Linked DNA regions of Homo sapiens: all the other regions are linked to region 4. Evidence: promoter capture Hi-C in human tissues and cell types (Jung and others, 2019). All regions are on one chromosome and are shown on one strand. The core of a region is centred on a gene start or on the middle of the fragment in contact, and the rest is flanking DNA. Distances in the headings are between cores, read along the strand shown. Region 1 has its middle 3.7 kb from the start of APOL1. Region 2 overlaps APOL2 (apolipoprotein L2). Region 3 overlaps APOL3 (apolipoprotein L3). Region 4 holds the start of MYH9 (myosin heavy chain 9). Region 5 holds the start of APOL4 (apolipoprotein L4).

Region 1 (5,159 bases), core at 2,254-4,753, 140 kb after region 4:
ACCTCACCCCACCCATACACACACACACACCAGCTTATGAGGCAGGAAGAGAATGGTGATTACACAGGGACTGCACAATACACTTTGCAATACATTCCATTTGCAAATGCTTCTCCATTTGATTGAGTTTTATAATCATCCCCTCAATGGGCCAGGATTATGATCTGATTTTGCAGATGAGGAAACTGAGGCAAGAAGAGAGGACGTTGCTTTCATCCAGCAACTCAGGGAGGAGGCAAGACTTGTAAACCAAAGAGGGTCTGGGACACGTCTCAGTCAGTTTAGATGTTTACTCTGCCAAGGTTGAGGATGCACCCAGGAAAAAGTCACACAAGTCACAGGAGGTTCTGGGGTCCACTCGTTTTTCACAGAGGGTTTTGAGGCCTCCAGTATTTAAATGTGTAAAATCAGGCAGGAGTGGAAGGAGGAAAGGAAAAAAGACAGGATAGGTAATGAGGTGAGTGGTCACATTCTTGTGAAGCTTTGATTAGCCCTCCTTGAATCCACAGGTTGTCTATGAAAGGAGGGGGTAGAGGAACAGTCAATTATTCATTCGTCTCATGCACAGTTCGTCTACATTTTATATAAGATAAAAATGAACATAGAGTAGAGGAAGCAGGCATATGTGCATTTTTCTGAGGGTGGGCAGAAGTCTTGTTATTTATCATGTACCAGTAAAGATAAGTTGCTAATTTGCATTGTCACAATGAAATTACACAAAGTCTGCCTCAGGGTAAAAACTGCTGGGACCCACAAGGAGTTTCCTTGTGAGCAATTTGTGAAGGAGGCTACCTGGGGAACATGTTGCCTTTTGTCTTCGCAAATATCTGCTTAGAAGCAAAAACAAAGGCAGGTTTTGGAGTGACTCCGTTTCTAAGCTTAACTGTTTCCAGTGAGTTTTGGGGTCCCAAGATTTGATTTTCCTTTCACGTTTTCTCCTTGTTCTTCAACAACTTTTTTTTTTTTTTTTTTTTTGACAGATTCTTGCTCTGTTGCCAGGCTGGAGTGCAGTGTTGTGATCTCGGCTCACTGCAACCTCCACCTCCCGGGTTCAAGTGATTCTCCTGCCTCAGCCTCCCAAGTAGCTGGGACTACAGGCACGCACCACCAAGCCCAGCTAATTTTTGTATTTTTAGTACAGACAGCGTTTCACCATCTTGGCCAGCATGGTCTCGATCTCTTGGCGTTGTGATCTGCCTGCCTCGGCCTCCGAAAGCGCTGGGATTACAGGCGTGAGCCACTGCGCCTGGCCGTTCTTCAACATCTTTTGGACAAAACACTGTAGAAGCAAATGAGTCTCTGGTCACGAGTTTGGTCTGAATTCTATTGTAGCAGGACGAGCTGCAGACAAAACCTCTCAGACACCGAGTAGTAGAAGGAAGGGCTTTATTCAGCTGGGAGCATCGGCAAGCTACTGCCTTAAAATCCGAGCTCCCTGAGTGCACAATTTCTGTCCCTTTTAAGGGCTCACAACACTAAAGATTTCACACGAAAGGGTCATGATTGATTTGAGCAAGCAGGCGGTACGTGACAGGGGCTGCATACACAGGTCGTCAGGGGGGAACAGAACAGGGCAGGGAGTTTCACAATGTTCTTCTACATAATGTAAGGAATCTATGAATAACATCGGCTTCTGAATCATAAGTTGATTTTTAACTAATGGGTTTAGGCCAGGCGGGCCCAGGCCTGGTTTCGGGCCTGGCGCCGGGCTGCCTGTCTTTGGTTTTACTTCCTTGTTGTTTTTTCTTAAAACAGGTACTGAGTACAAAACAATATAAAAATAATATGAGAGGGTCTTTCTCTTCCTTCACTATAACACAGTTTTCAAGCTTCAGTTTGCAGGACTTTAAGAAAAGCACAGTTTGGATTTCTGGTGATTCCAAGTCAGAAAAATGAGAGAAAAAGAAAAGCAAAATATTAGTTTGGAGACTTGTGGCCAGGAAAGAATTCAGTATGTAGTCCAGATAAACTGTGGACAAACAATACGGCTAGAAAACAATGGAGAAAGCTAGAATCCAATAACAGGCATTCTCTAGTTTCTTTTGAAACATACCTTTTCTCTCTCTAGTCCTGTATTTCTACCAAAGACAAATCATAGTAGGGCTAATTTATTTGCAACAGAAGTTTTAGTCTGATGGTTCTTGGCCTGATCATTTGTATAAAGTGCAGCAAGAATACTTATTTGGCATATGGGCTCCTTTTGGAAATTGACTTTGCTACAATATTTTCTTTTTCATAAGATATCTCAGAGTAGGCCTTTTAAAATCTCAAGCTCAGCCAGTGATTTATATTTGCCTGCAGATGCCTATATATATTAGGTGAGTTCCTTTCTCCTCAAGGTCCCAAGGTAACTTGGGCTTCCTGGGCCTGTCAGAAAGTGACATTCTTTACTTACCACAGGACAGGAACCCTGTAAAGGAACTGTATAGGCAAAGTTTGAGGAAAATTTTTCAAAGAGGCTTTCATCGGCTCTATAAGCCAGCCACCATTACTCAAAGCAGCCTACGTACATGTGGAAATATGCCATGCCAGTCAAAGCCTTGGTAAAATAACCAGTGTCTCTAGTTGTGTCCTGTTATGAAAGAAAACAGATTCCAACTGAACTTATGCAAATAACTCTATTGCCATGAACTAAGAATACTCACAAATAGTTTCCAAATTCTGGAGAAATCAGATAGTGAGAAAGAAATATGCTTCAAATTTTGCTCACAAGAGTATACTTTATTCAATTGTTAAAAGCTACATGGAGCCCAAAGGGAAAAAGAAGTTTTCTTGACTAAGAAAAACAAAACAAAAGAATCAGTCGTATATTAAACAAAAAGTCATTAAAAATTTATTTTTGTTCTCCATTAATTCATTCCCATGTAATAACCTTCTTCCACTTGATATTGGGTTAGCAATCTTCATGACCACATCAACTTTTGAATTACAGTCCTGGAAGATTTATTTTTTTCTTAGTCCGATGGCACAATCTGTAGCTGATCATAAACTGTTTTTTGAGATGTAAAGTAAACACTTTTTGCAGATAACAAAAGTATGAGAACAGCATTGGTAAAGACACATTCGACAAGGAAATTACTTTATTTCTGTGGCAAACAACTACTTAACATAATAATAATAATAGTTTCTGATAACATATGCCAAGACATATTAGACCTATAGAATCTCGTACAATTTTGGAACACATATTAATAACACATTTATATAAACATAATCCAAAGAATGTTAAACACCGTTTTATATTTGTCATGCTGGACCCCTATGCTAATGAGCTGACAGGACACAGACTTGGAGAGACAGAAGAAAAGACCTGGAGACAGCAGGTGAGACATAAGCTTTATTCAGGGAGCTTATGTACAGGTTGCCCAGGAGCAGCAGGCAAGACAAGAAATCCCCTCCTGTTTGTCAAATGCATGCAGGTTATATGATATTCTTCCCAGAGCAACCTCCACTTAGCACCTCTGCCAGGAAACCTCCACCTAGCCCAAAACAAAAGGTCTTGATTCCTTGCACAACCTCTGATCCAAGGAACAGAGTTCTTCATAAGTATGATGTAAACATCTGGATTGGCCATTCCCGGGATCCATACCTTGGAACACTGAGCAAAAATTCACCAAGGAATGTAGGGTTATTCTTAGGGGATGCTTCAGTTATTGCTGTCTGACGGGACATGCCCACCATGCTCTCCACACCCCTGCATAGCCTTGAATGGCCCTCACAATCTCATCACACTGTTTTTCTGTGATTTTCCTGGGGCCAGTTTTGTGGAAGAGCATTGCAGCCAGACACCCCAGCAGCAACACTAACCTCAACAAAGGATTATGAACGCAATTGCAATTACGCTAGATACAAAGTTTCTCCACGTGTCTGGGAGTTGATTAAACCATGAGGTGATAAGATCATAAGACAAAGACTCTGTGGCTGGACTCTGGGTATCTAACGTCAGCAGAGCCTGTGTTATGTTATGAGAGTAATGAGGGCTATATACACAACATTTTGTTTTAATTAATGCACAAGCTCCACCATGGGCAGCAGTTGTATGATTTTGGGTCATACGATTTTGCAGAGGAACATGCCTGATCTGGGTGGTTTCTTGATTGGGAAGTGTAAAACGATGGTGAGTATCATTGAAGGCTGCAGCTGTGTGTTTAGCCAGCACACGAATTGCAGCTCTGCATTTACAGTTGCCACTTTGGAGGCAAAGATGGCCAAGGGGTAGAACCACCAGTATGCACATATCTGGTAATCTCTAGCTTTTACCGTTTTCCAGTTACTGGGGGTCGTGTCTAAATGGGGAACTATATACTGTGGCAATTAAGGATGCCCTGAGATGCATCTGCCAGTCCAGTTGAATGGCAAATAAGGCCAAGGGTGGGTGACACAGGCCCACAGCCATCTCCATCTCCATGGGGATTGGTAGGCACCCATATGCAGAGACTTATTCTACCAACCCAGCCATGTATCATTGCTTAACCCAAGGGCTTGGTGACATTGTTGTACAGGTAGTCACCCCATATTGTGGGGTTAGCCGGTGATGTGCTGTCATTGTGTCTACCAATACACAGTTGCACAACTGACTACCTGTATTTGTACTATGGTTGTTCTGTCTGCTGTTATAGCTAAGGTGCAAGTTTACCCATGCCCCACTGCACCAAAGCAATTGCAAACCTTCCCCGGCCTCTGGGAATAGAATCTTCACTGCACTACAATTGCGCAGTGAAGAATTAACTTTATCCCAGGAGAGGTCTTCCCATTGTCCCCTACCCCTGCGAAGTGATCTCCAGGCCCCTGGAATGCCCTGCCTGGTAGGAATGTCTTTGTTTCCCTGGTGGTTTGGCTACAGGACAGTATAGCAAATGTGATGGATGATGGGGGTTTGGGGCTATTGGGTATCTCTTCTCACCACCAGAGGATCTGGGGACTAAAGGTGTGAGACCTCAGGGAGGGGCTGGAAACTCCAGGTCAGCCATGAGTGCAGCCTGTGGTCAAGCCCCAGCAAACACTCTGGACACTAAGGCATGGGTTGAGAAAGACTTTCTGTTTGACCAGACTCCAGTTGGGCTCTTCTGAGCCTCTTCTCCTCTAGGCACCAACCTTGGCCTTCCATGCCCATCCCGTGCTTGCTGGGCCTGCACAACCCTGGCTCAGCAAGAATCCCC
Region 2 (5,370 bases), core at 2,829-5,328, 160 kb after region 4:
GTTGGGCCCAGTGGGGTTTGGGGTTTCTGTCTTTGATGGTTTATTAAATTAAGGGGTTGGAGCCTTGGGAGGACTCTCTTGCTGGCTTGCGGCAGCTGCCTTTGCGCTGTGTGCTTACCTGGCCTTATTGTTTCTCTTTCTCTTCTTACAATAGGACACTAGCCCTCTAGTAGGATTAGAGCCCTACCCTTGTGATCTCATTCAGTCTTAATTGCTTCCTTAAAGGCCCAATCTTCAAATATAGTCACTCGAGTTTAGGGCTTCAGCATATGAATTTTGGGGGCACACAATCCCTCTATAGCACTGATGACTCCATCAAACATGTCCCACATCACAGTTGTCCAGGAAAAATTAACATGTAACCACCTAATGTGCAATGGCTGTTATGCTCCCCTACACTATCCTCCAACCTTATCCTTTCTTCTTTCCAACTAGAGAGCAGTATCTTTATTGAGGATTACCTTAAGTATTTCCAGGACCAAGTGAGCAGAGAGAATCTGCTACAACTGCTGACTGATGATGAAGCCTGGAATGGATTCGTGGCTGCTGCTGAACTGCCCAGGTAAGCTCCATGGGGTTAACTCCATGGGGCGCCCCAGCGATGCCACTCAGATCTCCCCTGGGCTGGTTGTCCCTGACAGGCACACCTCCTCCAGGCAGCCCCCTCTGCTGGGCTTGAGGATGACCTTCTCGGCACTCCAGGAGGAATATTTCCTCCATGTCCTTCGCTGGCAGTGAGTAGCCTCAGGCTGAGGGGATAGGAAGCCCACAGGAACAGGGTCATTTCTGCCATCTGCTGGTGATGGGAACTTTGCCAGTTACTTTCTCACTTTCAGCCTTTCTTCATCAATGGAGTTTTATTATGAGAAAAATGAGATCATGCATGTAAAGTGCTTAGCATAATGACTGACACATAGTAGGTGCACAGTTAACGTTAACATCTTACAAGCTTGGTGGAAAGAGACCAGGGTTAAGGATCTTCTTCTTGAAGATGGGAGCCCAGCAGGACTTCCTTTGGGAAAAGTCAGAAAAATCCTAACCTAAACAATATGTGTTCCTGGGGATGCTGGCTGGGGCCTTTTTTCTCATCTGAAGAATTCCACAAACACAGCAGGACCCTTCTGCTGGTCCAGGATCCTGAGAGGCCTAGTTCCTGGGCTCTGGGCTTATGTCATGGAGACTTGGAACTGTCTTCTGTCCAATAGGAATAGCAATTCAATGTCATAGGAGTGTGGTGAAGGCCTTAGAGGCAACTCCAGGTCAAAGGTGGGGAACCAAGGACTAAGATCCTGCTCAAAGGCCCAGAGAGACCGGGACCAGTGTCAGAGCCTGGAGTCAGGATGGAGTAAGAGTCAGCCTTGGTTTGGTAGGACAAGCAGGAAGGCTGGGGCACCAGGGCTGGGACTAGGGTGTGGAAAGAGAGGCACCAAGGGCTTGAAACTTAAGGAGGTCATGAACTTGCAGAGGACATGTGAGTGGGAGAGGGATATTTCTTCCCTGTCTGGATGATCCCAACACTCATGGGCATACAGGGTCATGGTAGCCTGTGTCTCTCACCCCATGCCTTGGAACTGGTGAGTTCTGGACTACCCTTTCAGACCTTCTTCTCTTCTACACAGAGAAGCTCCTTACCATGGCATGCCTTAGTGACCATTTCCAAAGTAGAATGAGTTGCTGCCAATTTGTGTAATTTCAGGGGTACTGAGCAGACTCACAAAGTCCCAACCGAGGAGGAAAACACTTCCTCTACCATCTTGACCAAATTCAGGTCTTTTCAGCATTAGCAATTTATATAGATGGTTCTGAAAGTGTCTTGAGTCTTCTAGTGGTTCCATAAAATTGCACATGGCCTTGCTGTGCACACAGGTGAAGCTGTCACTGCTAAGGCATCAGTTAGGCTGGTGACACCTGCGAGTGAGACCTGGAAGGTTGGGGGTGCAGGTGGTAGGTCAGGAGGCAGTAAGGTGGCTGGAGCGTCCATGTGGAGCCAGAATGAATAGCCAGATCTCCCACTCCAGTCAGCTGGGGCAGTGGCCGCACCCAGTAGCCTTCAGCCAGGTGAAAGGGCATGAGGCATTGGAAGGGAGCAGATGCCAGGCAAAGTGATCTCCTGTCTTTCTGAGGTTTTGTTTTTGTTTGAATTCAAAGTACTCAGAGATAGCCAGACTGCAATGTCTGAGGGCACCCTTACCTTTGACACCACCTGCAAATCTATGGGGATTCCTAAAATCATCCTTAGATTTTATAATTCACTAGAAGGACTCACGTAACTCACTGAAAACTGCTATTGCACGATTGTGGTTTATCACAGGGAAAGAACACAGATTAAAATCAGCCTAAGGAAGAGACACACAGGGCAGAGTCTGGGAGGATTTCAGGTGTGAATCTTCATTGTCCTCAGGAGGCTGTGTTCTCCTGTGTGAATGTGGGACAAAACACATGCGGTGTTGCCAACCAGGGAAGCTCACCCAGTTAAGGAAAAATTCCTGTGAATCACATTAAACCAGAAATGAAGCCTTTATTCAGGATTGTTGTTACAGGGGAGGGAGACTGAGCCCAGCTCCAAATATAGTAAAGACAGAGGGGGAGTCACAGCCAACACCAGGGTGGGGGCGGGAGATGGAACAGGACTGACAGGAGACGCCAGAGTGGGGGGTTCCTGCTAAACTGGCCTAACAGGATTCTCGCCAAAGGCAGGTCAGACCCTCAACCACCAGTGGTGGGGGTGAGGAGCATGATCAGATAACAAACGGTGCTCAGACAGCAAGCGGGGAGGACCCTCCCTAAACTGATTTGGGGAGATTCTTGCTGAGCCAAGGTGGTGCAAGTCCAGAAAGCAGTGGGTGAGTGTGGAAGGCCAAGGTCGGCGCCTAGTGGAGAAGAAGCTCTGAAGAGCCCAGCTGGAGTTGGTCAAGGAGAAAGTCCTTCTTTCTCAACCCATGCCTTAGTGTCCAGAGTATCTGCTGGGGCTGGATCACAAGCTGCCCTCATGGCTAGAGTCTCCAGCCCTTCCCTGAGATCTCACACCTTTAGTCCCCAAGTCCTCTGGAAGTCAGGAAAGACACCAAATAGCCCCAAACCCTATCATCCATCACATCGCTATACTGTCCCGTGGCCAAATCACCAGGCAAAGAAAGATGTTCCTACCAGGCAGGACATTCCAGGGGCCTGGAGATCACTTCCCAGGAGCTGAGGACAAAGGGAAGGCCTCTCTTTGGGTAAAGTTCATGCTTCACTTTCCTGCCATCCTGGTAATAAGGTCTCTTTGTCTCACTCTCACTGCTCTTTGTTCATCTGCAGAGTTTTCCCTCTCCAAACACTTTGGCAGTCACGGTGTTGACCTGCCCTTGAGTGAGGAGGCATCTTTATCAAACACCTACCATGAAAGAGCATCTGAGGTGCCTTTAAGATATTTATTTCCATATGGAATAAGTACTGAGGAATATCTATGATGAACAAAATGTGTTTGAGTTTGAAAGATAATTAATTCCATTTGTAAAATTTGTTTCTATTTGATTGATAGTGAAAGCTCTGCAATTTACACAGGATAGAGATCGCATGGAGCTCATTTCACAGATAGGGAAACTGCATTTCTTAATCCTTTAACCTTTCCTTGTGCAGGGATGAGGCAGATGAGCTCCGTAAAGCTCTGAACAAGCTTGCAAGTCACATGGTCATGAAGGACAAAAACCGCCACGATAAAGACCAGCAGCACAGGCAGTGGTTTTTGAAAGAGTTTCCTCGGTTGAAAAGGGAGCTTGAGGATCACATAAGGAAGCTCCGTGCCCTTGCAGAGGAGGTTGAGCAGGTCCACAGAGGCACCACCATTGCCAATGTGGTGTCCAACTCTGTTGGCACTACCTCTGGCATCCTGACCCTCCTCGGCCTGGGTCTGGCACCCTTCACAGAAGGAATCAGTTTTGTGCTCTTGGACACTGGCATGGGTCTGGGAGCAGCAGCTGCTGTGGCTGGGATTACCTGCAGTGTGGTAGAACTAGTAAACAAATTGCGGGCACGAGCCCAAGCCCGCAACTTGGACCAAAGCGGCACCAATGTAGCAAAGGTGATGAAGGAGTTTGTGGGTGGGAACACACCCAATGTTCTTACCTTAGTTGACAATTGGTACCAAGTCACACAAGGGATTGGGAGGAACATCCGTGCCATCAGACGAGCCAGAGCCAACCCTCAGTTAGGAGCGTATGCCCCACCCCCGCATGTCATTGGGCGAATCTCAGCTGAAGGCGGTGAACAGGTTGAGAGGGTTGTTGAAGGCCCCGCCCAGGCAATGAGCAGAGGAACCATGATCGTGGGTGCAGCCACTGGAGGCATCTTGCTTCTGCTGGATGTGGTCAGCCTTGCATATGAGTCAAAGCACTTGCTTGAGGGGGCAAAGTCAGAGTCAGCTGAGGAGCTGAAGAAGCGGGCTCAGGAGCTGGAGGGGAAGCTCAACTTTCTCACCAAGATCCATGAGATGCTGCAGCCAGGCCAAGACCAATGACCCCAGAGCAGTGCAGCCACCAGGGCAGAAATGCCGGGCACAGGCCAGGACAAAATGCAGACTTTTTTTTTTTTTTTTTTTTTTTTTTGAGATGGAGTCTCGCTCTATCGCCCAGGATGGAGTGCAGTGGCTCAATCTCGGCTCACTGCAAACTCCGCCTCCCGGGTTCACACCATTCTCCGGCCTCAGTCTCCCGAGTAGCTGGGACTACAGGCACCTGCCACCACGCCCGGCTAATTTTTTTGTATTTTCACTGGAGACGGGGTTTCACTGTGTTAGCCACGATGGTCTCCATCTCCTGACCTCGTGATCTGCCCACCTCGGCCTCCCAAAGTGCTGGGATTACAGGCGTGAGCCACCGCGCCTGGCCAAAATGCAGACATTTTATTAGGGGGATAAGGAGGGCAAGGTAAAGCTTATGGAACTGAGTGTTAGTGACTTTGGCATTTGTGTAGCTGAGCACAGCAAGGGAGGGGTTAATGCAGATGGCAAGTGCACCAAGGAGAAGGCAGGAACACTGGAGCCTGCAATAAGGGAGGAGAGAGGACTGGAGAGTGTGGGGAATGGGAAGAAGTAGTTTACTTTGGACTAAAGAATATATTGGGCGAAGAATAGAGGGGGAGCTTGCAGGAACCAGCAATGAGAAGGCCAGGAAAAGAAAGAGCTGAAAATGGAGAAAACCAGAGTTAGAACTGTTGGATACAGGAGAAGAAACAGCAGCTCCACTACCGACCCCCCCCCAGGTTTGATGTCCTTCCAAGAATAAAGTCTTTCCCTGGTGATGGTCTCTCGCTCTGTCTTTCCAGCATCCACTCTCCCTTGTCCTTCTGGGGGTGTATCACAGTCAGCCAGTGGCTTCTTCATGATGGTGG
Region 3 (4,911 bases), core at 1,813-4,312, 240 kb after region 4:
TGTAGGGTTGAAATATTCTTTTTCAATAAAATGTTTAAAATCCCACAGGTATACTACAGTGGAGAATGCAGGAACCACAGGCATTTTCAAAATATATGGAGTCTTCAAAGTAATGGCAAGGGAACGCTGGCCTTGAGTCAAATCCTGAGCTTCCTGCTTGCTGGGTTGGGTGGTGTCTTTCGCTGTCTGGGTCTCAATTTCTCCTTCTGTGAAATGAGAATGAGGCCTCGCAAGTGTGTCCACGGCAGGAAACGATTTTACCTCATGTCCCAGTGCATACATAAATCCATACTGCTTCCCAGTCCCTTCTCTGCAGTTCCATAATTCCCAAATCCCTGCAAACCACACATTTTTGGGGCAACTCATCTGGGCAGTAATCCTGCTGTGTACTAAGATGCTTTGTACTGATAATATTATGTATCCCATTTAAGGTGAATATTCATTGGTTTCTCTGTTGAAACATTTGTACCTTTGATTACAAGGTTGAAACATTTGTAGCGTTGACCAGTGTGGGAGTGGTCAGTGATACAGCATATGCACCCTGTGTCATATTGACACAGATTGAAAATGCTGCCATCCTAAACACATCTATATCCCAGGAATTTACATAAGGGTATATATATATACACCCTTATGTATATATATATTATATATATTTCAAATATCTTACAAAAGAATACTCACTCTTGCTGTGTTCAATACACTCTGATATTTTCAATGCTCTTTTCTTTTTAAAATGCTGCTCTTGACAAAATGAACTATTTTCATAACCCACTGATGGGTCGAAACTCAGATTTTGAAGACACTGGTGTAAAGCGTTTGACAATAGGCACATGGCAGAAGGAAGCGATCACTGGAATATTTCCCGTACATGGGGAGAAAGCATGGTGGAAAGCTCACTTTCTGGTGATTCTCAGCTGAAATAGATCGGTTCCTCCACAAAGCACCATGGCACTTCCCTGGTGAATCACTCTTCTCAGGATGCCTTAGTAAAACGCCACAGGCTGGGTGGCTCCAACAACTGATGTATTTTCTCACAGTTCTGGAGGCAAAAATTCCAAGGTGAAGGTGCCAGCAGGGTTGATGTCTGGGGAGGGCTCTGCTCCTGGCTTACAGAGGCTGCCTCAGGGCTGTGTCCTCACATGGCCTTCCCAGTGTGGGGGGTGTATGTGTGTGTGTGTGTGTGTGTGTGAGTGTGTGAGAGAGAGAGAGAGAGAGAGAAAGAGAGACAGGGAGAGAGGGCTGGAAGGCAAGAGAGACAGCGAGGGCGGGGTGGGGTGAGGAGAGAGAGAGAGATCTTCTGCCTCTTTTTTTTCTTTTAACTAGACACCAGTCCTGTAGGATTAGGGCCCTACCCTTACGACTCTCTTTAAATTAATGACTTCCTTAAAGGCTCAATCTCCAAATATAGTTACTGGGGTTTAGGGTCTCAGTATATGAATTTGGAGGGCACACAACTCAGTCTATAGCACTGATGCCTCCATCAAAAATACCCCATGTGACAGCTGGTTGAGGAGGATTAACCTCGAACCACCTTATTCTCAATGCCATTTAGGCTGTAGCACACTTTCTTCCAATCTTATGCTTTTTGTTTCCAAGTAGAAAAGAAACGCTTTACTGAAGAGGCCACCAAATACTTCCGGGAGAGAGTCAGCCCAGTGCATCTGCAAATCCTGCTGACTAACAATGAAGCCTGGAAGAGATTCGTGACTGCGGCTGAATTGCCCAGGTAACCTCCGTGGGGTTACCTCCATGGGGCGCCCCGGCTATGCCATCCTGATCTCCCCTGGGCTAGTTTTCTCTGGCAGGCACACCTCCTCCAGGCAGCCCCCTCTGCTGAACTTGAGAATGTCCCTCTCAGCAGTCCAGGAGGAATATTTCCTCCAAGTCCTTCGCTGGCAGTGAGTGACCTCAGGCTGAGGGGAGAGGAAGCCCACAAGGGCAGGGTCAGTTCTGCCATCTACTGGTGATGGGAGCTTTGCAAGCTACTTGACTACTTTCTGCCTTCCTTTCTTCATCCATTGAGCTTTATTGTGAGAAAAATAAGCTAATGCATGTAAAGTATTTAGCATAATGACTGACACATGGTAGGTGCTCCGTTAATGTTACCTTTTAAAAAGATTGCTGGGGAGAGACCAGGACCAAAAGTGTTTTTCTTTTTTTTTCTTTTTTTTTCTTTTTTTTTTTTTTTTGAGACAGAGTCTTGCTTGTCCCCCAGGCTGGAGTGCAGTGGCATGATCTCGGCCCACCGCAACCTCCGCCTCCCGGTTTCACGCCATTCTCCTGCCCCAGCCTCCCAAGTAGCTGGGACTACAGGCTCCGGCCACCGCATCCGGCTATTTTTTTTTGTATTTTTAGTACAGACGGGGTTTCATCGTGTTAGCCAGGATGGTCTTGATCTCCTGACCTCGTGATCCTCCCGCCTCGGCCTCCCAAGGTGCTGGGATTACAGGCATGAGCCGCTGCGCCCGACCAAGTGTTTTTCTTAGAGTTGGATGCCCAGCAGGACTTTCTTTGAAAAAAGCCAGAAAAATCTTGACCTGATCAATGTGTGTTCCTGGAGATGCTGTCCGGGGCCCTTTTCTTCCACCTCTGAGGAACTGCACAAACACAGCAGGATCCTCCTGCTGACACAGAACACAGAGAGGCTGGAATGGAGTTGGACAGAGCTGGGGGTGGATCTTGGCTCTGTCCCTGCACAGCTCTGGGGCTGTTGTTTTATGTCTTGGAGACTGGGACCTGCCATCTCTCCAATGCTAATAGTAGTTCAATCAGATGGGCGTGTGGTTAAAGCCTGAGAATGAACAGCAGGTCAGAGGTGGGGAACCAAGTAGCATGATGCCATCCAAAGACCCAGAGAGACGTTTCAGGGGCAGAGCCAGGGGTCAGGATGGGGCAGGGGTGGGCCTGGGTTGGAGGAGCAGCAGGAAGGCTCGGGCACCAAGGCTGGGAGTAGGGTGAGAAGAGGGAGGCACTGAGGGCATGAAAGGTAACGTGGCCATGGACTTGCAGAGGACCAGTGAGTGGGAGAGGGATATTTCTTCCCTCCCTGATTTGATCCCATCACTGATGGGCATAGTGGGCCATGGGTGACTGTTTCCCTGACAGCATGCCTGGGAACTGGGGCATTCTGAACTGCCATTTGGGACCCTCTTCTGTTCTACATAGAGTAGAGGAAGTGTTTCTTCGGGCCAGCTTGGAGAGTTGGAACAAGTGTCTGCCAACTGGGTAATTTGAAGGGTTCTCAGGAGACTCACAAGTCCCCAACCAAAGAGAAAAACACTTTCTCTATCATCTTGTCCAAATGCAGGTCTTTTCAGCATTAGTGATTTATAGAGATGATTTTCAAAGTCTCATGAGTCCATAAGAGGTTCCATGAAATTGCACATGGCATTGGCATGCACACAGGTGAAGCTGTCACCTGCTAAGGCATTAGTTTGGCTGGTGACATGTGACAGTGAGACCCTGAAGCTTGGAGGTGCCAGGTCAGGAGGCCGTCAAGTGGCTTGAGAGTTCATGTGCAGCCAGGACTAATAGCCAGGCCTTTCACTTTTCAGTCAAAGGGGGCAGTGGCTGGACCCAGTGGCCTTCAGTCAGAAGATCAAAGGGCATGTGGCATTGGAAGAGAGAACATGCCAGGCAAGGTGATCTCTTCCAGTCTGAGGTTTTATTTGATAGCTTAAGGACTCAGAGTTAGTCAAAATGCAATGTCTGAAGGCACCCTTCCTTCTGACACCAGTTGCAGATTTGAAGGTGTTTCTTAAGCCCCCACTCAGGTTTGATAATTCACTACAAAGACTTACGTAACTCACTGATAACTGTTATTGCACGATTGTGGTTTATCACAGGGAAAGAACACAGATTAAAATCAGCCTAAGGAAGAGACACACAGGGCAGAGTCTGGGAGGGTTTCAGGTGTGAAGCTTCGTTGTCCTCAGGACGCTGTGTTCTCCTGTGTGAATGTGGGACAAAACACATGGGGTGTTGCCAACCAGAGAAGCTCACCCAGTTAAGGAAAAATTCCTGTGAATCACATTAGATCAGGAAGCCTTTATTCAGGATTGTGTTACAGGGGAGGGAGACTGAGCCCAGCTCCCAATATAGTAAAGACAGAGGGGGAGTCACAGCCAACACCAGGGTGAGGAGTGGGAGATGGACCAGTTCTGACTGGAGACACCAGAATGGGGGGTTTCTGCTAAACTGGCCTAACAAGCTGCTCAACTAAAGGCAGGTAAGGAGCGGGTGAAGACCGTGATCAGACAGCAAGAATGCTCAGACAGCAAGTGGGGAGGACCCTCCCTAACTGCCTTGGGGGATTCTTGCTGAACTGGGGCAGTACAGGCCCAGCAAGCACGGGATGGGCATGGAAGGTCAGCGCCTAGAGGAGAAAAGGCTCAGAGCAGCCTGACTGGAGTTTGGCCAAGGAGAAAGTCTTTCTCAACCTATGCCTCAATGTACAGAGCTCTTTCTGGGGCTGGATCACAAGCTGTCCTGATGGCTGACATGGAGTCCCCAGCCCCTCCCTGAGGTCTAACACCCTTAGTTCCCAGTTCCTTTGGAAGGCAGAAAAGATACGTAATAGCCCCAAAACCCATCACCCATAACATTGCTATACTGTGCTGTAGCCAAACCACCAGGGAAACAAAGATGTTCCTACCAGGCAGGACATTCCAGGGCCCCAGAGATCCCTTCCCAGGGCCCAAAGACAAAAGAACGACCTCTCTTCTAATAAAGTTAATCCTTCACTGTTCTATGATCCTCTGAATGAAGGTCTTTTTGCTCCGAACCCACTTCTCTTTGTTCATCTACAAAATTTCCCCTCTCCACACACTATTGGAGGGATGATGTTGACCTCTCTTGCTTGAGGAGCCATCTTTATCGAATACCTACCACTAAAGAGCATCTGAAGAT
Region 4 (4,902 bases), core at 343-2,842:
TCTTTTTCTTTGTTTTTTTTTTTTTTGAGGCGGAGTTATGCTCTTGTTGCCCAGGCTAGAGTGCAGTGGTACGATCTCTGCTCACTGCAACCTCCGCCTCCCGGGTTCAAGCGATTCTCCTGCCTCAGCCTCCTGAGTAACTGGGATTACAAGCATGGGCCACCATGCCCGGCTAATTATTTTGTATTTTTAGTAGAGACGGGGTTTCTCCACGTTGGTCAGGCTGCCCTTGAACTCCCAACCTCAGGTGATCCGCCCGCCTCGGCCTCCCAAAATGTTGGGATTACAGGCATGAGCCACGCGCCCGGCCGAGGTTTTTCTTATCAACTGGGAAGAGATCTTTATATATTGCTGATAGTAATTTGTCACAGAGTTGCAAAATCTTTTTTTCCCAGCTTTCTTTTGCCTTTAGAACATAGCTTTTTTCTGAAGTTAATTTGGAAGAATAGTCATGATAGCAAGCACATTCCAGTAAGAAAGAGTAATGATGAGAAATTTGCCCTCATAGATATAGAATGTATTATAAAGGTATCTTCATTAAAGCATGGTGGGATTGGCACAGGTGCACACAGAGAGATCAATGTATACAAGTCAGAAACAGCTTCAAGTATAATAGTTCTATAGGCGATGAAGGTGCCAACTAAAATCAGTGGAGAAAACAGTGTTTGGACAAGTGGCTATTACAAAAATTATCTTAGGTTTCTTCCTTACCCCAAAAATAAATTCCAAATGGATCAAAAGATTTTTCATTTAAAAATGAAAACATTTTTTATCCTCTTGTAGTGGACAGTAACAAAAAAAAAGTGCAATTTGTAACAAGTACCTGAAAGGATGTATGCGAGTTAATGACATGGAGGTGAAGAGAGGCTCGGAAGGGTATTCCAGGTGGAGAGAACGGCCAGAGCGAAGGTTTGGAGGCTGAAAGGCAGCAACGTGCGGATCCTAAAGAGGCAGGGTCAGGAATCGAACTCAAGACGCTCACAATGGAATCCAGGGCTGAGTCCATGCCCGCCCCCACAGGGATCATAATTATGTAAAATAGCATTTTTCCCATATATGGTACTTAATATCTGTCCTTGTGGTGGGATGACATGAGACTGAGAGCACAGCTCGCGGGGCGGGGTGTCAGAGTTCCAGACCTTCCCAGTCGGCTCCCGCAGGGCCTCGCCCCGGCCCAGGCAAGGCACCAAAACCCCGGCCCGGAGCTCTCCGCGCCCCGAGTCGCCGCCTCCTGATTGGATTCCCCCTGTGTCAATCCTTGTCCTAGAACCTGGCTGTCCGTTGGACCCGCCCTAGAGGGCGGGGCTCCCGCCTAGGAAGCGCGGGGGAAGGTGGAGCGGGTGGAGGTGGGGCGGAAAGAGGATGTTGAATCCCCACCCATCTGGCCGCAGAGGCTCCGCCCACCCCCTTTCCACAGGCCAATACGTCTGCCCATCAAGGCCAGGCGCGGCCTGCAGTGGGTGTAGCAGGAAGGGGGCGGGATTGTGCCCCAGGCTCCGCCCCGGAGCCGGCTCCCGGCTGGGAATGGTCCCGCGGCTCCGAGGGCGGGGCGGGAAGGCGGCGAGGAGCCGAGCTGGGTGCGGTGAGGCGCGCAGATCACCGCGGTTCCTGGGCAGGGCACGGAAGGCTAAGCAAGGCTGACCTGCTGCAGCTCCCGCCTCGTGCGCTCGCCCCACCCGGCCGCCGCCCGAGCGCTCGAGAAAGTCCTCTCGGGAGAAGCAGCGCCTGTTCCCGGGGCAGATCCAGGTTCAGGTGAGCGAGCCCCACCGCGGTCCCGCCCCGGGCAGGCGGCGGCGGGCGGGCGGGGGCGAGACGCGCTGCCGCCAGGCCGACTGGTGGTTCTTGGGCTCAGTGCGGCCCGCCACCCGCGCGGGCGGGGGCGAACGCCGGCGGCTCAGGGCCCGGCACCGCATCCTTCCCAGGGGGACCGGGACCCCCACGCGGGCGCTCGGGGAGGGCGCCGGCAGCAGCGAGGCCTAGGGGTGCAGGGGCGGCCTCGGGACCCGGCGCTCCCCGGCGCCCCCCGTGTCCCCCGGCGCGGTCTCAGGACTGGGCACTGGAGCCGACCTCCCCCAGCCGCTGGGGCACGCGCCCCGCCCTCGCCTCGCCCAGGCCCGACTCGGGCAAACTTTTTAACCCCTTCCGGGAGCCGCGGCCCCTGGGACGCAGCCTCACGGGTTGGGAGCCCGGGGCAGCCGCTCCCGTGGAAGTTTCTGGCGTCTGAGGCACGGAGGTAACGGGCAGCGGGCACCGTTTGGCAGCTGTCAGGGCGTCCTCCTGAGTCAGAGTCGGACCGTCCCGCTGCAGACCTTGCACCCGGCCCGGTTTCCGCCTCCGCGGCCGACTTCCTCATTCGCCCGCTGCCGTCGGACTGGTCGGGGAGGGCCCGGGGGAGGTGCGGCGGCTGCCCGGACAAGGGGGACCCGGCGGGGACCCGGGCGCGAGACAGGAAGGGCCACCCCCAGTCCCTGCTCCAGCCCTCGACCTCCGACTTCTGATCCTCGGGGGAGGGAGGCCCGGAATGCAGCAGCCGTCGGGGCCGCCCAGGCGTGCACCTGATTCCACCGCACCCAGGGGCCATCCCGTCTGGGCGGGGTGCGGGGGCAGCTAGCTCTGCCGTTACGAGCAGGCCTGGGCGATTGCATCTTTCCTGTTTGAGCCAAATCGGAGTTTTCTATTCTCCACTCCACGCACCCGCTTCCCTGTGCTGGGGTCCTCACCCCATCCTGTTCTGGGGCCACGCACAGGAGACAGGACTGCGGCACCCTCATTCTCCAGGGAAGCCCCGCTGTTTCAAACTGAGACTCAGCACCCCCAGCACTAGCTTGCCGGCTGTCCTGTGGTGGGGGGCAGGGTGAGCGCACGGCCCCACCCAGCCGGTGTGGAGAGAAGACTCCTTGGGAAGTCCCAGGTCGTAGAGGCAGGCGGCTGTCTCCACCGGGCAGTTGAGAGGCCCAGCCACTTCTCGGTTCACTGCGCCCTTTTCTGGGTTTAACAGGATTTCAAAGTGACTGATGAGTAACCGTGGAAAGGGAAGAGAGCCTTAGCTCCTTCTCCGTGCAGCGCAGCACTGTGGCCATTCTAACTACACTGTCTGGGCCAGTGTTTGGCTCACCTGATGGCTTAGGAGTCCCTTTTTGGTAAGGAGGGAGGCCTTTTGAGACAATCACTCAATTAATAATAGTCAGTTTATATACAAGGCTGCTATGTGTGGGGGAAGGGGACACAGATGTGTAATTGAGCAAATATTTAACTGCCCTCTCTGTGCCAGGGACTCTGCCAGGTGGTGGGGGGGTGGGAGGTTGAGTAAGACCTGGCCCGTGCCCATGGGCACTTAGGGGAGAACTGAGACAAATCTGTAGATGAGTCTAACGTGAGGTAGAGATGACAGGGACCCCGGAAAGGTACTGTGAGTCATGGGGATTGGGAGAAGGGAGCCAGACTGCCCTGTGAAATCCCCGGGGCCCTGCCTCTGCCCTTGGGGAGTTTACAGTCCTCAAGGGGAAAGTGGCAGAACCAGTGAAATACAAAGGCAGCCTGTGATGTGTGTCCCAAGTATGCCATAGACAAAGGACTCAGGAATTTCAAGGCTGAGAGGGGCCACTTCTCTTGGGCAAGGAGGAGGCTGCTACAAGGGAGAAGCACATTGCAGGTTTGGCAAACTGAGGCAAGCATGCGGTGTTGGAAAGTGAGGAGCCACTTAGTGGATAATTGGGGGGTAATTAAAAACATGGAGAGATTGCTCAGTGTAATTTGAGAGCCACTGCGCTCTGGATGACTGTGGGGTGACACCAAAGAACTTCAGTCTCCACACTCAGCAAACCCTGGCAGCGCAGGTGGGCAGAGCCAGGTGTCTGGAGAGCCGGCATTGGCAGGCTCTGGGGAGCTCCCCAGCCCCGGAGAGAAGGGCAGCATTCGGTGAGGCTGTTCATCTGAAAGGTTCAGGAGGGTAGAGGAGAGGGAGGGCCCTGGCTTTCTTGCTTTTATTTTTAAACTTTTTAACCTAAGGGGTTGGAGATGGGACAACTTCTCTCTCGTAGGATGAAGGACGCATGTTAATCACAGCCTGCCTTTTGCCCGCTCTTGCTCCAGAAAAAACAAAACAAGGATCTGTTAGCTCTTTAAAAGAAGAAAAACACACTAAAAAAATGCAGCATTGTTGTGTAGCCTGGTAGGGTATTGCTAGAAACCAGGCTGGCTGTTCTTCCTTTACTTCCTCTTCTAGCTAATTCTTCAATAAAGTACTTAAGACAGCCCTTACCAGCTTGACATCTTTATTTCAAAAGGAGAGGAGGGGTTGGCTGTTGTTTTCCTCTGAGCCTGGCCCTACCCTTCTCTTGGAGGGGGAGAAAGAGAAACCCAAAGCAAAGGAAAAAGAGAGAGAGAGAAAAAAAAAAACCCGTGCCTTGACAGCTTCCTCCCAAGCATCATGTTCCAAAAATATTTAGAATAACAAAATCTGTGTGTCGTCGTAATTAAACAAACGTCCTAATTTACTGAGCATAAAACAGCATCTCTGCCTGCTGGGGCAGGAAGTGCATTTCCCTTTGTGCAGCCCCAGAGAGTCACTGCCTCTCAGCCTTAACCCTTGGTGTGCTGAGACCCTGGGCTGGAGTCCTCTGCTGACAAAAGAATGGAGCCCTGGCAGTGCTGCTGCTGTGGCTTACTGAATCCCACTCTTAGAGCTGGGAAGAGTGGGGTAGTGGAAAGAACGTGAGCTTTGGAAACAGGCCGAGTTCAAATCCTGACCATGCTACTTAATAGCTTTGTGACCTTAGGCAAGTCACATAGCCTCACAGCTTGGATGTGCTTATGTATAATATGGGAATCAAGATCCTACCCTGTGGGGTTAGATGCATGAACTGAAAGAAATAAGGTATGTACATGGCCTAATATGTAGTG
Region 5 (4,985 bases), core at 1,723-4,222, 190 kb after region 4:
TTGTGACTTTCATTTTACCTTTCGAATTCCTGGGTATATCTTGGGGGCTGGAGGACGTGTCTGGTTATTATATAGGTGCACAGCTGGAGGTGAGATCCACACAGCTCAGACCAGCTGGATCTTGCTCAGTCTCTGTCAGAGGAAGATCCCTTGGTAAGTTGGGGATGGTGTGACCTCCCTCCATCTCCTTATTCTCGCAATAGCTCTATGAGGGAAGGATCATTCAGCTTTTGTAGATAAGCTCGGAGAGGTTAGGTAACTCGTTCAGATCAGACAGGAAAGCAGTGGTAGAGCCGGGATTTGCACCCAGGCTTGAGTCTGATTGCTCCCTCCCTCCTGCTGGGCCCTTAAACCGTAGAGAGAGGTGGGGAAATAGCTCAGATGGGTTCACAAAGCTCTCTGGGCTCAGCTCTGTTTTAGACTGCTGAGACATGGCCAGGTGACCCCAGAAGGAAGGTTTGTGTTGGGGGTGCCCATCTCTTTGGGAAATTTGAAGGAATCAAAGAAGGTGGAGGTGGGGAGGTGACCTGGAGCCCGGTCTGTCCTTATGGTCTGGCCACAACCAGGCTGGCCCCGGGGTGCGGCTGCTGAGGCCTGATGAGGCAAGAGATTTCTTTTGAGATACAAGGAACCTAGAGGTCATCTCACCCACCCTGAGTCTGAGCACCTACTTGTGCCAGGCCCTGTGGGGAAACTGAGGCCCTGGGAGGGGAGTGACTTGCCCAGGGTCCAGTGTCAGGAGGCTGAGCAGGTAGATCATAGGACTCCATGTCTGTGGCCCTCACCTCTGTCCCTCTGTTCAGACCTCTGGGGTGATGGAGAAGAAACAGGCTGTGCTGTGTCCCTAATGGGAAACTGTAGGGAGACCCCCTGAAACTATTGCTACGGAATAAAAGATGAAATGCTCCTGATTATTGTAAATACAAAATTGCATGCAGGATTGTGTAAAGACAATGCCAGGTTGGACTGCCAGAACGAACCAACAGCACGTGATGTGCTTCCCCCTGCAGAGAGCCTATGAATGGATGCAGGGGGGCGCCTGTCCATATGGACAAGCTAGGGCTATAAATGCTATCATCTTGCCGTGGCTCTTCTAGGCATCTTTAGGGTTCAGGTATACTCCCTTCTGAGAATTTCTAGTCTAACCGGTTATCTAGCTTCACGTCCTGTTTCCATGGATTGTCAGTAACCAGCTTTTGTTGCAATTGTTACTGCTGATTAATATCTTGCTAATCATAGGTTATGGAAAGATTGTGTTTCTGTTTTAAGGCTCTGTTAGAAATTACTGACGCACACACTATATTGTAAATTCTTATCTCTGTATACTGTACTTCTACATACAAATGCACTGTACTTCTACATACGAATGTTATGTTAAAGAATTACTTCATCCCCATGTGACCATCCCACCTCGTAATCAAATGACCCTAAATCCCTCACTAACCTACCCCCGCCCTCACTAAACTGAATAATAAATGCTGGTATATCCAGTGCATTGTTGACCAGAAGGCGGTGACCCCCCTGGACCCAGCTTTCACTATCTTGTGTGTGTCTATTATTTCTCAACCTGCCGATCCGCCTAGGAGCAAAGAGAGAGCCCCGTTGCACTGGGGGCTGCTGGCCAGATCCCGCAATAGGAAACATGGCTGAGACAGGGGAGTGAGAAGGTCGCATTGCAGAATGGTGCCTGTGGCATGACGCCAGCTTTGTAATCATGAGATTCAAAAGCCACCTGTGGAATTGTGAGTGTAACTACAGGAGTGAGAGCTTAGATCTCTGTGTTTGTAGAAGCAGAATCAAACCTGGACACTGTTGGATTACTAAAATCACCCGTTTTTCTTCAATAGCAGAGTCACAAGGGCAGATGTTGGCTTCCCGTCTGCTCTCCAAGAGCTGTGCGACTCTGGGCAAGTCACCTCCCCTCCCAGCCTAAGATTTTCCCCTCTCAGAAACCTGATAGAGCTGCCAAAAGTCCATGAAATCAGGGGGGTAATTTCTGTGAAATCTGAGTCGTGGTCTTATTTTTCTTTTTCTTTTTTTTTTTTTCTTTTTTCTGAGATGGAGTCTCGCTCTGTTGCCCAGGCTGGAGTGCAGTGGCGCAATCTCTGCTCACTGCAAGCTCCGCCTCCCGGGTTCACACCATTCTCCTGCCTCAGCCTCCCGAGTAGCTGGGACTACAGGCGCCCGCCACTACACTCGGCTAATTTTTGTATTTTTAGTAGAGATGGGGTTTCACCATGTTAGCCAGGATGGTCTCCATCTCCTGACCTTGTGATCTGCCTGCCTCGGCCTCCCAAAGTGCTGGGATTACAGGCGTGAGCCACCGCTCCCGGCCTGATTTTTCTTCACCAAAAAGAGATGCCCATCAAGATAGAAAGCACTATAGCTGAAGCCTGTAATCCCAGTGCTGTGGGAGGCAGAGGCGGGAAGATCACTTGAGGCCAGGAGTTCAAGACAGCCTGAGAAACACAGGAGATGCTGTCTCTATGAAATCAAAAATTAACAAATTAGCCCAGCATGGTAGCGTGCACCTGTAGTCCCAGCTACTCAGAAGGTTGAAGGAGGAAGATCACTTGAGCCCAGCAGATCTAGGCAGCAATGAGCTAGGATGGCGTCAAAGCCCTGCAGCCTGGGTGACACAGCAAAACGGTTTATTAAAAATGAAATGAAAATGGTGATTTCTCAGGAGGAGCACACTGTCTCAACCCCTCTTTTCCTGCCCAAGGAGGAGGCCCCGCAGCGACATGGAGGGAGCTGCTTTGCTGAAAATCTTTGTCGTCTGCATCTGGTGAGCTTGGCTCAGAGCCCTGAGGTGGGAGGGAGGGCTCCCTGTCTGGGCTGCACAATTGGGCAGGGCTTGGGCTGGGCCAGGAGCCATGTGGGTTTTTCTAGGAACCAAAATCACTTCCCGGAATTGACCAACTGGTAGACTCGCCTAGAGGGGACGCACTGTGTCCTAGTTGAGGCTAACAGTCAGTATCCAGCCTCAACATTCAGCAGAGGCCCCAGATCAGCGTCTGAGCCAGGCCAACAATGACCAAGGAGGATGGGATCCTGGGTGCAGCTCATCACAAGCGTCGGGTGAGTCCGAGGCCCCAGCTCTCTGCCCTCCTGCTCCTCTGCTCTCTCCTGGTCCTCCCAGTTCTACTGGCTCATGGTGTTGAGATGGTTGCCTTGGCCTAGGGGGTCACACAGTGAACAAAGCAGGAAGAAGGCGAAGGGATGCCCCTCTCCTGTCACCCCTGTCCCTTACAGCAAGAAGCGCCCAGACGCCCCTCTGCATACTCCCCTGGTGAATGCTGCCCAGGACTGGGTCCCCCTTTTACCCTTGTTGCATGGGGGCCCCAGAAGACAGACATCTGTGTGTCTGAACCCTGAGACAAAGGCAGGAAAGGGAAAGAGGGAGGCGAGTGGCTTTTGAGGAGGGGGCTTTAGTATGAGAGCTGGAGGATGGAACCCCATCAGGGGGCCCGGGAACCACTGAGCTGTTAAAATAAAGTCTGCAAACAAAGACCAGCTGCTGGAAGTGGGTGTGCCAGGGAGTGCGCAGAGACACACGGTGAGAAAAGAACAATGGTAATGCTTGGAGCCGCCCCTAACTGGGATGGGCCTGAAATGGTATTGTTATTATTTATAGTATCATTATTAGTCATTTTCATCTTATTTGTACCCTCCCTCTATCTCTCCTCTCCACCTTTTCCTAACATTCTATCACCAGTTTTATGTCTTCCATTAGCAACTTTGTAGCTGTAAACAATTTACTTACAACTTTCTTATACCCTCAGTTGTACCCAGTATTTCTTAACTTCCATCTTTAAAAAATGACAATATTAATCCTCCTTCTCCTTTGTTCAGTGCTTCACATCTCAACTGCTACCTTCGTGCCTTAAAGTTTGTACTAATTGGTATTGATAACAAGATATTTAGTTCTCAAATTTACATGTTGTGTATATATTTTTTGTCCTGATAAAGAGACTACTGAGAGCCAGTAAGACTGAAAGAATGGGCATCTTCATATACTGCTAGTTTGAGTGTGAATTGGTACAATTTGCATGTAGTGTGGCTCTAGGTATAAAACATTTTGAGATGTTGATACCCTCTGACCTAGTCATTCTACTCCTACAAATATCTTAAGGAAATAAAATCAAATGTGGGCAGTTTTACGTGAAGGAGGGTGTTCTTTGTAGCATAATTTACATGAAGAATTAGAAACACCCTAAGGTCCATCAGCTAGGGGAGGACAGCAGAGGGAACAGGGCAGCGCCAGGAGGGCTCGGCAGCCACAGCAGGGGCTAGGCCGGCATCTGGCAGGATCCAGGTCTTTGTGGGACAAAGGATCTTAGAGAAGCAAGGGGGACACAGGCTGTCCACTGCAGCACCAGTGAATTCACCAAGACGAAAAGTTGAGCACGGAGTGTGAGACATGGATTTGCAATGAGGAGTCATTTACCATGAGCGTGTATACATGACTCAATATTGTATATTTAAGGGAGTAGAGCACAGTCATTGAAGACATGAGGTTGAAGCAGAAGTCCTGGCTCTAGCAATAGAAAACACTGGCAAGTTCCCTAACTTTTGTGGATTCCTCTGTGTTCAAATGGGAAAGTGGTACCCATCTCCCGGGCTGTGTGTGATCATTGAATGAGACACATGTCAGAAGCCCTGCACATCACAGGCCCGGCGCGACCGCTCACGCCTGTAATCCCAGCACTTTGGGAGGCCGAGACGGGCTGATCATGAGGTCAGGAGATCGAGACCATCCTGGCTAACACGGTGAAACCCCTTCTCTACTGAAAATACAAAAAATTAGCCGAATGTGGCGACGGGCACCTGTAGTCCCAGCTACTCGAGAGGCTGAGGCAAGAGAATGGCGTGAACCTGGGAGGCGGCGCTTGCAGTGAGCCGAGATCGCGCCACTGCACTCCACCTGGACGACAGAGCGAGACTCCGTCTCAAAAAATATAAATAAATAAAAATAAAAATAA

The links. The method cuts DNA at HindIII sites, captures the fragments that hold promoters and counts their contacts. A contact is called where the count stands out against the background at its distance.
Region 1: a fragment that was not itself captured here is called in contact with the fragment with the promoter of MYH9 in region 4 in 5 of the 25 tissues and cell types used here (dorsolateral prefrontal cortex, heart left ventricle, liver and 2 more).
Region 2: a contact is called between a fragment that was not itself captured here and the fragment with the promoter of MYH9 in region 4, in 1 of the 25 tissues and cell types used here (dorsolateral prefrontal cortex).
Region 3: a fragment that was not itself captured here is called in contact with the fragment with the promoter of MYH9 in region 4 in 2 of the 25 tissues and cell types used here (dorsolateral prefrontal cortex and mesendoderm cells).
Region 5: the fragment with the promoter of APOL4 here is called in contact with the fragment with the promoter of MYH9 in region 4 in 2 of the 25 tissues and cell types used here (adrenal gland and mesenchymal stem cells).

Annotation. Positions count from the first base shown.
Region 1 is chr22:36,246,887-36,252,045 of GRCh38, reverse strand. No RefSeq gene overlaps it. Among named protein-coding and RNA genes, the nearest start is that of APOL1, 3.7 kb to the left of the region's middle. The HindIII fragment of the contact is 5,646 bases long and covers 681-5,159 here.
Region 2 is chr22:36,226,532-36,231,901 of GRCh38, reverse strand. It overlaps APOL2 (apolipoprotein L2), which reads left to right. Exons shown (of 5, transcript NM_030882.4): 4 at 436-562; 5 at 3,622-5,370. The coding sequence ends at 4,498. Among named protein-coding and RNA genes, the nearest start is that of APOL2, 10 kb to the left of the region's middle. RefSeq lists an enhancer at 4,061-4,739. The HindIII fragment of the contact is 3,547 bases long and covers 2,305-5,370 here.
Region 3 is chr22:36,142,291-36,147,201 of GRCh38, reverse strand. It overlaps APOL3 (apolipoprotein L3), which reads left to right. Exons shown (of 4, transcript NM_145639.2): 3 at 1,603-1,729. Among named protein-coding and RNA genes, the nearest start is that of APOL3, 16 kb to the left of the region's middle. The HindIII fragment of the contact is 7,006 bases long and covers 1-4,911 here.
Region 4 is chr22:36,384,657-36,389,558 of GRCh38, reverse strand. MYH9 (myosin heavy chain 9) reads left to right here and starts at 1,592. Exons shown (of 41, transcript NM_002473.6): 1 at 1,592-1,752. MYH9-DT (MYH9 divergent transcript) reads right to left here and starts at 965. Exons shown (of 3, transcript NR_183573.1): 1 at 824-965. RefSeq lists enhancers at 1,281-1,575, 3,199-3,248, 3,006-3,719, 3,759-3,948, 3,720-4,433 and silencers at 1,369-1,948, 1,979-2,058, 2,339-2,568. The HindIII fragment of the contact is 20,760 bases long and covers 1-4,902 here.
Region 5 is chr22:36,199,796-36,204,780 of GRCh38, reverse strand. APOL4 (apolipoprotein L4) reads left to right here and starts at 2,972. Exons shown (of 4, transcript NM_001386885.1): 1 at 2,972-3,081. The coding sequence starts at 3,047. RefSeq lists an enhancer at 2,497-2,996. The HindIII fragment of the contact is 28,208 bases long and covers 1-4,985 here.